Linked DNA regions of Homo sapiens: regions 2 and 3 are each linked to region 1. The links are contacts of gene promoters, found by promoter capture Hi-C in blood cells and fetal thymus (Javierre and others, 2016). All regions are on one chromosome and are shown on one strand. The core of a region is centred on a gene start or on the middle of the fragment in contact, and the rest is flanking DNA. Distances in the headings are between cores, read along the strand shown.

Region 1 (3,425 bases), core at 473-2,972:
GTGATAGAACTTGAGCTTTGAGATGGTATGACTTGCAGCCAGAGGCTTCCCAGAGATGCTGGCATAAGACACACTTTCGAAGACAGACAGGTCTTCCATGCTGGGTGGCTTCATGCAAATCAGGTATCCCCATGGCATCATGGGAGTTGGATGCCGTTGCTGCAGGAGTTTGGGTACTCTGCTCCCCAAACAGGATTGACCTAAGCCAAAGGCTGTCTGCTAATCAGGACTATGAGGAGATAACACACGTTACCTACCCACCACAGATGCATGCCATTTCTTGGTGCCAGGACTGCTTGGGAACTCCACTGTTATTTCCCTTTCATCGCAAGTGACAGTGCCTAAGGAGCAAAGGAAGCATTTGGGGGCTTTGAGTCATGAGTGATGCAACTCCTACAAAAGTGTATAGACTCCTCTCAGATGGGAGGGATTCCAGATGAGGGAGGCAAGAATCGTCCCCTACCCTGGGAGAGCTCACAAACAAGTGACCAAGACAACAATACAATATGCCAAGAACTGTAAGGAAAATATCAGGTACCCAGGGCTTTTGAAGTGTTCCAGTAAGAAGCCCAGGTTAGGGTTGACAAGCAGGTCTGTAGGAGCCAGGTCAACACCTTGACAGTGGAGCAGATGGAGGCAGGCCCGAAAAACTGACAAAAGCTTTGTCAACAGGTTTTGCAAATTGATGTTAAACAAAGTCCTGGGTAAGTCCCAGGACTTTTATTTATTTATTTATTTATTTTGAGACGGAGTCTCTCTGTCACCCAGGCTGGAGTGCAGTGGCACGATCTCAACCCACCTCAACCTCCGCCTCCCAGGTTCAAGCGATTCTCCTGCCTCAGCCTCCCAAGTAGCTGGGATTACATGTGCCCACCACCACACCCAGCTAGTTTTTGTATTTTTGGTAGAGATGGGGTTTCACCACATTGGCCAGGCTGGTCTCAAACTCCTGAGCTCAGGTGATCTGCCCGCCTTGGCTTCCCAAAGTTCTGGGATTACAGGCGTGAGCCCCGGCGCCTGGCTGCATTTTTTTTTTTTTTTTTAAAGATCAAGTTTTGCCCATCATCTGCTACTCTGCAGCCTCTGGCTCAGGTGAACGTCAAGTGAGCAGCTCCAGTTTTGCTTGTTATGTCGATGTTTTCCTTAAGCATGAGTTTGTGTTTGAAGATTGCTGCTCCTAAAGATGAGGGCTTAGTGTGGTGGTTTGCTGTTCTGTGGATACCATAAAGCTTGAGGCAGTGAGGGATTGGAAGGCAGTGCAAGTGTTTGAGTTTTCATTTAGCAGGTATAGTGAGTCTACAGGTTAGCAGAAGAAAGATCCAGTAACCTGACCAAGGTAATAAAGGGGGTGAATGGAGGTTGTCTGAGCCAGGCCTGTGTTTCTTGGCCAGCTAGGCCTTCCAGCTGCAACCTGTTTTCTCTGCTAAGAAGACTTCTGTCACCCAAGAGACATACCTGGAAAGGCAGGATTTACCAACTGAGAAACATCTATGGAGTTCCCTGAAGTCACAAGGGCGAAGAAGAGAGAAATCGACCTGTAGGTGCTGGAAAGAGACAGGGAGATAGTCAAGGAAGAATGGACTTTAACAAACAAAGCTACCATACCCCCTCCCTCCACTTCCAGAATTACTCACCTCCAGCCTGCATTGAACCAGCCTGAGGGACTCCAAGAGCCTCCTCTCTGCCTGCACGCCATAGCAGAAGACACTACCAGATCAACCAGGTAGAGGGTAGGCTGCTCTGTGTTTTTATAGCAGGAAGCCAGCCGCATCCACACCCTCTCCCCATTGGGGGCACCTGAATCTTGTCCCATTCTCCCAGCTGAAACGGAAGGATTGGGGAAGGAAGTGGCCTCTGATTCCTGACAGCTTGCGCCGGGTATTCTGCCAGCTGCCCTGTGGGCCAGGCATGAAATCAGAGTTTGCTGAAATCAGCTCCAGGTGAGTGAATTGGTGTTTTCCCTATAACTATGGGGGAAATTAGGATCTTTTGGGCAAATTATTTACAACTGCAATGTAGAGCCAAAGAGAATCATGGGCTTTATTGAGAAAAAAACAAGTCTTGTTCACACCACTACATTTTTTTTTTTTTTTTGAGATTCAGTTTCACTCTGTCACCCAGGCTGGAGTGCACTGGTGCAATCTCGGCTCACTGCAACCTCTGCCTCCTGGGTTCAAGCAATTCTCCTGCCTCAGCCTCCTGAGTAGCTGGGATTACAGGTGCACGCCACCACACCTGGCTAATTTTTGTATTTTGAGTAAAGATTGGGTTTCACCGTGTTGGTCAGGGTGGTCTCGAACTCCTGACCTAGGTGATCCACGTGCCTCGGCCTCCCAAAGTGCTGGGATTACAGGCGTGAGCCATTGCACCTACCCTAAAACCTTTTAAGTAACATCTAGTCTTCTGGCTACTGCAGAAGTTACCCTGATAATGCACAGGAAGTGTCTTTAAAAAAATGAATGAAGCCTTGTTGACCCCCAAGTGTAAAAGCTTAAGCTTACCGCAAAGATACAATTTCAGAAGGATACAGAGAAAAGGCAAAAGTCACTCATAATAGTGCCACTGCTAATATTTAGGTGAGTAACTTTAGACATGTTTCTACAAACACCACACACAATTTTTTTAAAACACTGGGAGGAAAGTTTAAATACTGTTTTGTAATCTGCTACTGTCACTTTATAACTATTAAACATAAAGCTCTCTGTTACCATTTTAGGGTGGCATAATATTCAATTTGAGATAAATCTGTGTTTATATAATTTCCTTAATTATGAGCATAAGGTGGCTTGTAATTTTTCATCATTATAAGCAGTAACATGATGAGCATTCTGATACATATCCTTGGGTAACCCTCAAGATAAATTCCTCAAAGTAAAACTTCTGGGTAAAAGGGAGTAGTGATCTAATAAGAATGTTATATTGTTGTAAAGCACTTGGAAGTTTCCCAGTGGGGAAACTGAGGCAAGGCAACTTGCCCCAACAATGTCAGGGACCAGGTGGAGAACTCAGATTTCCTGAGGCCTGATGGTTGTGTTTTTTCAACATCTCTCACACTCTTTGAGATAACTAGATGTCTGCAGCCCATGTTCCAAAATAGGTGGATATAAGGCTTAGACTCCATTCAAGTGGTGGGTGACACTTGCAATTATTAGGCTGGTGCAAAAGTGATTGCAGTTTTTGCCGCTACTTTTATGTATGTATGTATGTATTTGAGATGGAGTCTTGCTCTGTTGCCCAGGTGGGAGTGCAGTGGCGCAATCTTGGCTCACTGCAACCTCTGCCTCCTGGATTCAAGCGATTCTCCTGCCTCAGCCTCCCGGGTAGCTGGGATTACAGGCGCCCACCACCAAGCCCAGCTAATTTTTGTATTTTTGGTAGAGACAGGGTTTCACCATGTTGGCCAGGCTGGTCTCGAACTCCTGGCC
Region 2 (3,425 bases), core at 233-2,732, 1.5 Mb after region 1:
ATAGTTATGTGCTGTGGTTACTCAGCCTTGGGATTCAGATTGCCCAGGTTCAAATCTTAGTCCTGTCACTCTGTGAAAGTTTACTTACCTGTAATGGGCATCAAGGGCTTCTTGACCCATAGAATTGATATGGGGACTGTGTTTAACAGAATGCCTGCTTGCCTCTAAAAAGGTGACCTATGATTAATGTTGTTTTAAGAAATGATGATGATGATTTTTTTTTTTTGAGATAGGTTCTCTCTCTGTCACCCAGGCTGGGGTGCAGTGCCATGAACATGACTCACTGCAGCCTGGACCTTCTGGACTTAAGTGGCCTCCTGAGTAGCTGGGACCACACGTGAATGCCACCATGCTTGGGTAATTTTTAAAATTTTTGTAAAGAGAGGGTCTCACCATGTTGCCCAGGCTGATCTTGAACTCCTGGGCTCAAGGAATCCTCCTGCCTTGGGCTCCCTAAGAGTTGGGATTACAGGTGTGAGCCACCGTGTCTGGCCAAAGTAATGATTATTGAATGTATCATAGGTATCTAGGTAAGAGAGTGACCATACGAAAAAATGGAAGAAGCATGACTGGTTATATGCTCAGTTCTCTGAATCACCCCCTCCGACTCAAGTTCCTCATTTCTAGATTTTTTCCTTCCTATAAATTAGCTTGATCTTTCCCTGGTATGACTCCTACAACTCTGCCCCGGCCTCCAAGTCTAAGTGAGCTCTCCCTATTGTGCTCAAATCCTGTCCTTTTCCCACACCAGATCATTTTAACCCTTGCCATTCTTCAAGCCAACAATTCTCCCAACAATTTATTTCTTCCGCTCCCACCACTCCAGTGCTCAGTCAGTGAGTGATTCTGGGAAGAGTGGTCTGGCTGGGTTGGATGGCCAGGTCTATTTCAAGTTCATCTCAGCTGTCTGGTCATTTTTTATTTAAAAAAAAAAAAAGCTTTGGGAAGTAGTCTATTTAAACACACGTAAGCAGCTGTTCCTCCCTTTCCACCTGCTTTCATCCCTTTCTCAGCAGATGGGATCATCATCTATTTTATTGAAATAACAATAATACCCCCAAGTTTTGTTTTGTTTCATTTTGTTTTTATGAGACGGACTCTTACTCTGTCTCCCAGGCTGAAGTGCAGTGGCACGATCTTGGCTCACTGCAACCTCTGCCTCCTGGGTTCAAACGATTCTCCTGGCTCAGCCTCCTGAGTAGCTGGGATTACAGATTTGCGCCACCATGCCTGGCTAATTTTTGTATTTTTAGTAGAGATGGGGTTTCACCATGTTGCCCAGGCTGGTCTTGAACTCCCGACCTTAAGTGATCCACCAGCCTTGGCCTCCCAAAGTGCTGGGATTACAGGCATGAGCCACTGTGCCCCGCAAATACCCCCAAGTTTACTGACCTCTTAACTATGTTAGATGCCAATCTAAGCCCCTTTAATGGATTATCTCCATTGTCACAATAACTCCTACGAAGATAGTACTGGGACTATCCTATTTTACATATAAGGAAAGTTAGGCTCAGAGATATGGAATGATTGACAAATGTCCAACAGTAGAGCTGAGATGTGAATCCATGTTAACCTGATCCCCAAATTGAAGCTCTTACCCACTTTTACTGAAAAGCCGTTTGGATTCTTTAGTCCACCTACTTTCTATCTCTGCTTAATGGGCTGCAAGATGCCCATTTCACTGAACTTGTTTCTCCTAAGGACCTGCAGGCTGCTTTGCTGAATGCTCCTCCTCCGCCTTGATCCTGCTTTGGCATTCCAAACTGCTGGGTTTGTGATCCTTTTTGGATCTCTTCACTAGTTTATGGGGCTCTGCATGCTCTTGGCTCTCCAACAACCACTAGAACTTCTTACTGACCGGCTGTTTTCATTCCATCCCTTAAATGTCAGCATGTTCTGAGGTTCTGTCTCAGCCTTCCTTGCAGGCTACACATTCTCCCTGGGTGACCTCATGTCCTCTCGTAGCTCCAGAATCGTTGCTTCTTAAATAATCTCTCTGTTAATTTTTTAGTCCCTGCTTTTATTTGAAGCTTCTGATCTGCCTTTCTAACCAGTGGGTGTTCTGGGAGTGCTTCAAAATCAGCTTGACTCAACTCAATGTCATCTTTCCCGAAATACTCTCTTCACCCGTGTTCCTTAGCCTAGTAGTAAAAACAGTCTACCCAGTCTGGACTTTAGTTAACAAATTCTGTTTATTTCTCCAAAGCAGTACCAGCGATTATTCCTCTGGAAAGACCTCTGTCTCAGCTCAATTTTCCTCTACCATTTGACTGGACTATTGCAATAATTTCCTAAGGGTCTCTCTGTCTTCAGAATCCTCACTGCTATCCATCTCCAAAGACATAGACCTATTTATGTTATTTGGCATCTTGAATTTTTCCTGCTATATATTTCATAAATACCAGATTTCTTGGACTAGCATTCCATGACCTTCTCATATTGCCCACACTGACTTTGCTAAGTTTATTTAATTATTAAAAGTACTATGTGGGGCTGGGCGCAGTGGCTCACTCCTATAATACCAGCACTTTGGGAGGCTGACGCTGGAGGATTACTGGAGCCAGGAGTTTGAGACCAGCCTGGGCAATATGGAGAAACCTTGTCTCTACGAAGAAAAATGCAAAAATTAGCTGGATGCGGTGGCACGCCTGTAGTCCCAGCTACTTAGGAGGCTGAGGTGGGAGGATCGCTTGAGCCCAGGATATGGAGGATGCAGTGAGCTGTGACTGCACCACTGCACTACAGCCTGGGCAACAGAGCGAGATCCTGTATCAAAGTCCCAGCTACTTAGGAGGCTGAGGTGGGAGGATCGCTTGAGCCCAGGATATGGAGGATGCAGTGAGCTGTGACTGCACCACTGCACTACAGCCTGGGCAACAGAGCGAGATCCTGTATCAAAAAAATAAATAAATAAAATAAAAAGTACTATGTGATAATTACTGATAGAAAAGCTCTTCATTTTTATAGGTTTATCTTACAACCATACAGCATCTGAAATTTCTACTTTAAGTGGTAGATATAATGGATCACAGTGATAGATTCTCCTGCATCAGCCTCCCAAGTAGCTGGAATTACAGGTGCCCACCATGATGCCCAGCTATGATGTTAAGCCATTCTTGTGCTCCTAATATAAGTGTATTATTCTTTTGATGAACTGATGAGCTTAATTTTCTAATATTTATTTACAAATGTGTATCTGTATTCATAAATGAATTTGTCTGTGGCTTTCTGTTTTTGTGCTTTCTTCATCAGGCTTAACTAATAAGGTGATTCTAATTTCATAAAAGTAGTAATATCAAATATGTATGCATGTGGGCCTTAATAGGCACCAGACACTGTTCTAAGCAGTTGATAGTTATAAACTCACTTAATCTTCACAACAATCTCCATGAAGTAGAGTTTCCTCGTCATTTAACAGAGAAGGG
Region 3 (3,425 bases), core at 446-2,945, 1.4 Mb after region 1:
AGGCAAGATACATAGGAGGCTGATTTAAACCTAGATTTGTCAAAAGGGCCACTGGGAGAGCTGTCCAAGGTGCTACACAATGGGTTCTGACACATCCCTGAATATGAAATGTATCAGCATGGTTTTTGTCAGCAACAGCAGGGGCACGAATCAAACAAGACTCACAAGATAGAAGCTTTTCTTTCCTGGCTGTTTCTTCTTTACATAAGGAGAGTCAGAACAAATATAGGAGGCTGGCTGAATTTTCTTTCTGGACATATCCTCTTGAGTGCCTTGCAGTCATCTCAAATTCAGCATGTCTAGAAATGAATTCATCACCCTTACTCATCAAACCTACCCCTCCTTCAGTTTTCCCTATCTCAAAATGACACCATTGTCCTTAAAAGGTTAAATCAGCTTCCATGCTAACTTCTCTACCTTCATATGCTTGTTGGCTGCCTGTATGTCTCTGGCCTCATGCAGTCTCTCACCAGGTTTTGTTGCACTTACCAAAAACATGCCTAGATACCATCCATTTCATTTCCAATGGTTTAGCCACTGGAAATGGCCAGCTTTCATCTGGACAATTGCAAAGGACTGCAATTTACTTCCTCCTTGTTCTCTTATTTCTTCCCACACAGCCATTAGAATTATCTTTAAGAATGCAAATAGATCCAGTCACTCCTTTGCTTAGATCATTTAATGGCTTTCCCCTGCCTTCAGGATAAATATGGACTCCCTGAGATGACCTGTCAGGCCCAATATGATCCAGTATCTTTGCTTTATCTTACATCACTCTCTTCCTTGTTCTATAGTTCTTTCTCTTATTCAAAGCTGACATACTCTATCCTGACTCAGGGCCTTTTCTCACATTATTCCTTCTGCCTGGAATGATTCGTCTGTCCCCCCTACCATCCAGCTAACAACTGCTTCATTTCTTAGCTCAGATATCACTTACTCCAGGAGACCCCATGCTGGTTTAGATCTACCATGATATGTTTCTGGTGTACTCTGTACATCTTCCCAATAGCCATACTCTGTACATCTTCTCAATAGCCAGTTAACTTACTCAAAGTTTGTTTTCCCTTGTAGACTTTGTTTCATGAGGGCAGAACCTGCATCTTTCTTGTTCACCATTGTATCATCAAGAGCAATGTTTGGCACATAGCCGGTGCTTAGCAAGTATTTGTTAAATAAATAAGCAGAAGTCCAAGGACCCAGACTCGTTGGAGACTGAGATAAATACCCTAAGACACTTCATGTTTGTCCACAAGCCTGAAGTGACCTCAGAGAGGGAACGGTTACAAGTTTAAAACAGCTGCAAAGTGCAGAGAAAAGGCCAGCAGATGTTCTGACTGTTAGATGTTCCCGGTGGGTTGTGTGCTGTGTCATATGGGACTGCCAGCCAGGGCCTGCCATGTCGGGAGACCTTGGGGGAAGGAGCAGATCTCAAGCTATAGCAGATGGTAAGTGCTGTCTTTAGTCTTTAACATTTAAGGAAAAGAACTGGGAATAGACGTTCGGCTCAGTAGCAGTTATGATGCATTTAAATAAGCCTTGCAAATCATTTACAGAATGCATATGCCTCCAAAATTCTTCATTGCTCATAGATTTTGTGGGAGCTTCCTCTGGTCCATCTTTGTATCCTCAATGTACAGTAGTGTCTGTGGCATGGGGCGAACCTTCAGTGTGGGTGGGCTACCCACTGAAGGAAGGCACATACTTGAGACATATTGGCATTTGGCCGGCTGTGGGTAATTGATCATCTTCCCCAGGAGAGTCACGCCCCCTAAATGCAGAGACTGTGCCTTGTGCCTTTTTGTACTCCCTCTCCCACTTTACTCAGTTTCTTGTTCCCCTCCAGCTAATATCAGGGCAGGTGGGTGGGACACTACTCGCCCTATCTTAGTTCAGGTTGCTGTAACACAAATACCATAGATTGTGTGGCTTAAATAGCAGAAATTTCTTTCTTACAGTTCTGAGTCTGGGAAGTCCAAGATCAAGGTTCTAGATGATTTGATTTGGAGAGAGTTTTCTTCCTGGTTTGCACAGACACCTTCTTGCTGTATCTTCACATGACAGAAAGAGAGAGAGATGGGGGTGGAGTGAGGGATGAGAGAGAGAGAGAGAGAGAGAGAAAGAGAGAGAAAGGAGAGTGAACTCAAGAGTGCTCCATCTCATCTTAGAAAGGTACTAATGCTGGCCAGGCATGGTGGCTCATGCCTGTAATCCCAGAACTTTCGGAGGCTGAGGTGGGTGGATCACCTGAGGTTGGGAGTTCAAGACCAGCCTGATCAACATGGAGAAACCCTATCTCTACTAAAAATACAAAATTAGCCAGGCGTGGTGGCACACTTCTGTAATCCCAGCCACTCAGGAGGCTGAGGCAGGAGAATCGCTTGAATCTGGGAGGCAGAGGTTGCAGTGAGCCGAGATCGTGCCATTGCACTCTAGCCTGAGCAGCAAGAGTGAAACTCTGTCTCAAAATAAATAAATAAATAAACAAATAAATAAATATATAGGTACTAATCCCATCAAGAGGGCTCCACCCTCATGACCTAATTACCTCCCAGAAGCTCATCTCCAAATACAATCACATAGGGCATTAGGGTTTCAACGTATGAATTTTGGGGTGACACAAACATTCAGCCCATAGCATGCTCTATCATATTTTCCTGGAGAACCGTGGTTTTGGAACAAGGGAAGTAGGGCTTGGATATTTCAATTAGCTTCCATTTGAAAATGGGAATGAGAATACCTGCTTCATAGGATTATTGTAAAGATTAAATGAAATTGCATATTTAAAATGCCTCAGCCTATGCCCGACTCATGATAAGTAGTTAGAAAATTATGGAATTGAAGAGACAGTATGCCATGCCATTATGGTCATGGGCCTTGCAGCCATAGAGTCCTGGGCTTCATTATGGGCCCTGCCACTAGTAAGTGAACTTGACAAGTTATTTAACTTTTCTGAGCCTCAGTGTCCTCATGGGGAAAAACAGGGCTAAAAATCTGTCTAGCTCATGGAGTGGGTGTAGGATTAAATGCAATATACATATAAAATGCCTTGCCATATAGTAAATGCTCAATAAAAAGATAGTAATTGTTATTACCATCGTTATTATTGAACAGCAAGTGATAAATTGGGATATCCTGACTGTCCTAAATTGTGTCAGAAATGTGGGATCTGGTTCATATTTATAGAGACTTCTTGTTCTTTCAATTGTTCAACCTAAAAAGCTTAGAGTTGTCGTTAAATCTTCCATTTTTCTCACTTTCCACAACCTGTCCATTGGATATTCTTGTTGATTCTACCTTATAATCTAGGTAGAGTCAAGCTACTTCATTTTTTTTTTTTTTGGCAAAATTCAGAAGACAATGTAAAATACATGTTATCAAATGCATTACAAATAACATTTCTATATTGATCAGTGATTTTTTTTCCT

What was found. The method cuts DNA at HindIII sites, captures the fragments that hold promoters and counts their contacts. A CHiCAGO score of 5 or more calls a contact.
Region 2: a fragment that was not itself captured here is called in contact with the fragment with the promoter of ZP2 in region 1 in 13 of 17 cell types (total B cells, naive B cells, total CD8 T cells and 10 more); the score reaches 14.8 in total B cells.
Region 3: a fragment that was not itself captured here is called in contact with the fragment with the promoter of ZP2 in region 1 in 5 of 17 cell types (total CD8 T cells, total CD4 T cells, naive CD4 T cells and 2 more); the score reaches 11.8 in total CD8 T cells.

What each region holds. Positions count from the first base shown.
Region 1 is chr16:21,209,852-21,213,276 of GRCh38, forward strand. It overlaps ZP2 (zona pellucida glycoprotein 2), which reads right to left and starts at 1,723. Exons shown (of 19, transcript NM_001376232.1): 1 at 1,635-1,723; 2 at 1,456-1,544; 3 at 258-341. The coding sequence starts at 1,696. The HindIII fragment of the contact is 1,261 bases long and covers 1,228-2,488 here.
Region 2 is chr16:22,693,199-22,696,623 of GRCh38, forward strand. No RefSeq gene overlaps it. Among named protein-coding and RNA genes, the nearest start is that of LINC02890, 81 kb to the left of the region's middle. The HindIII fragment of the contact is 1,092 bases long and covers 937-2,028 here.
Region 3 is chr16:22,641,182-22,644,606 of GRCh38, forward strand. No RefSeq gene overlaps it. Among named protein-coding and RNA genes, the nearest start is that of LINC02890, 29 kb to the left of the region's middle. The HindIII fragment of the contact is 3,044 bases long and covers 174-3,217 here.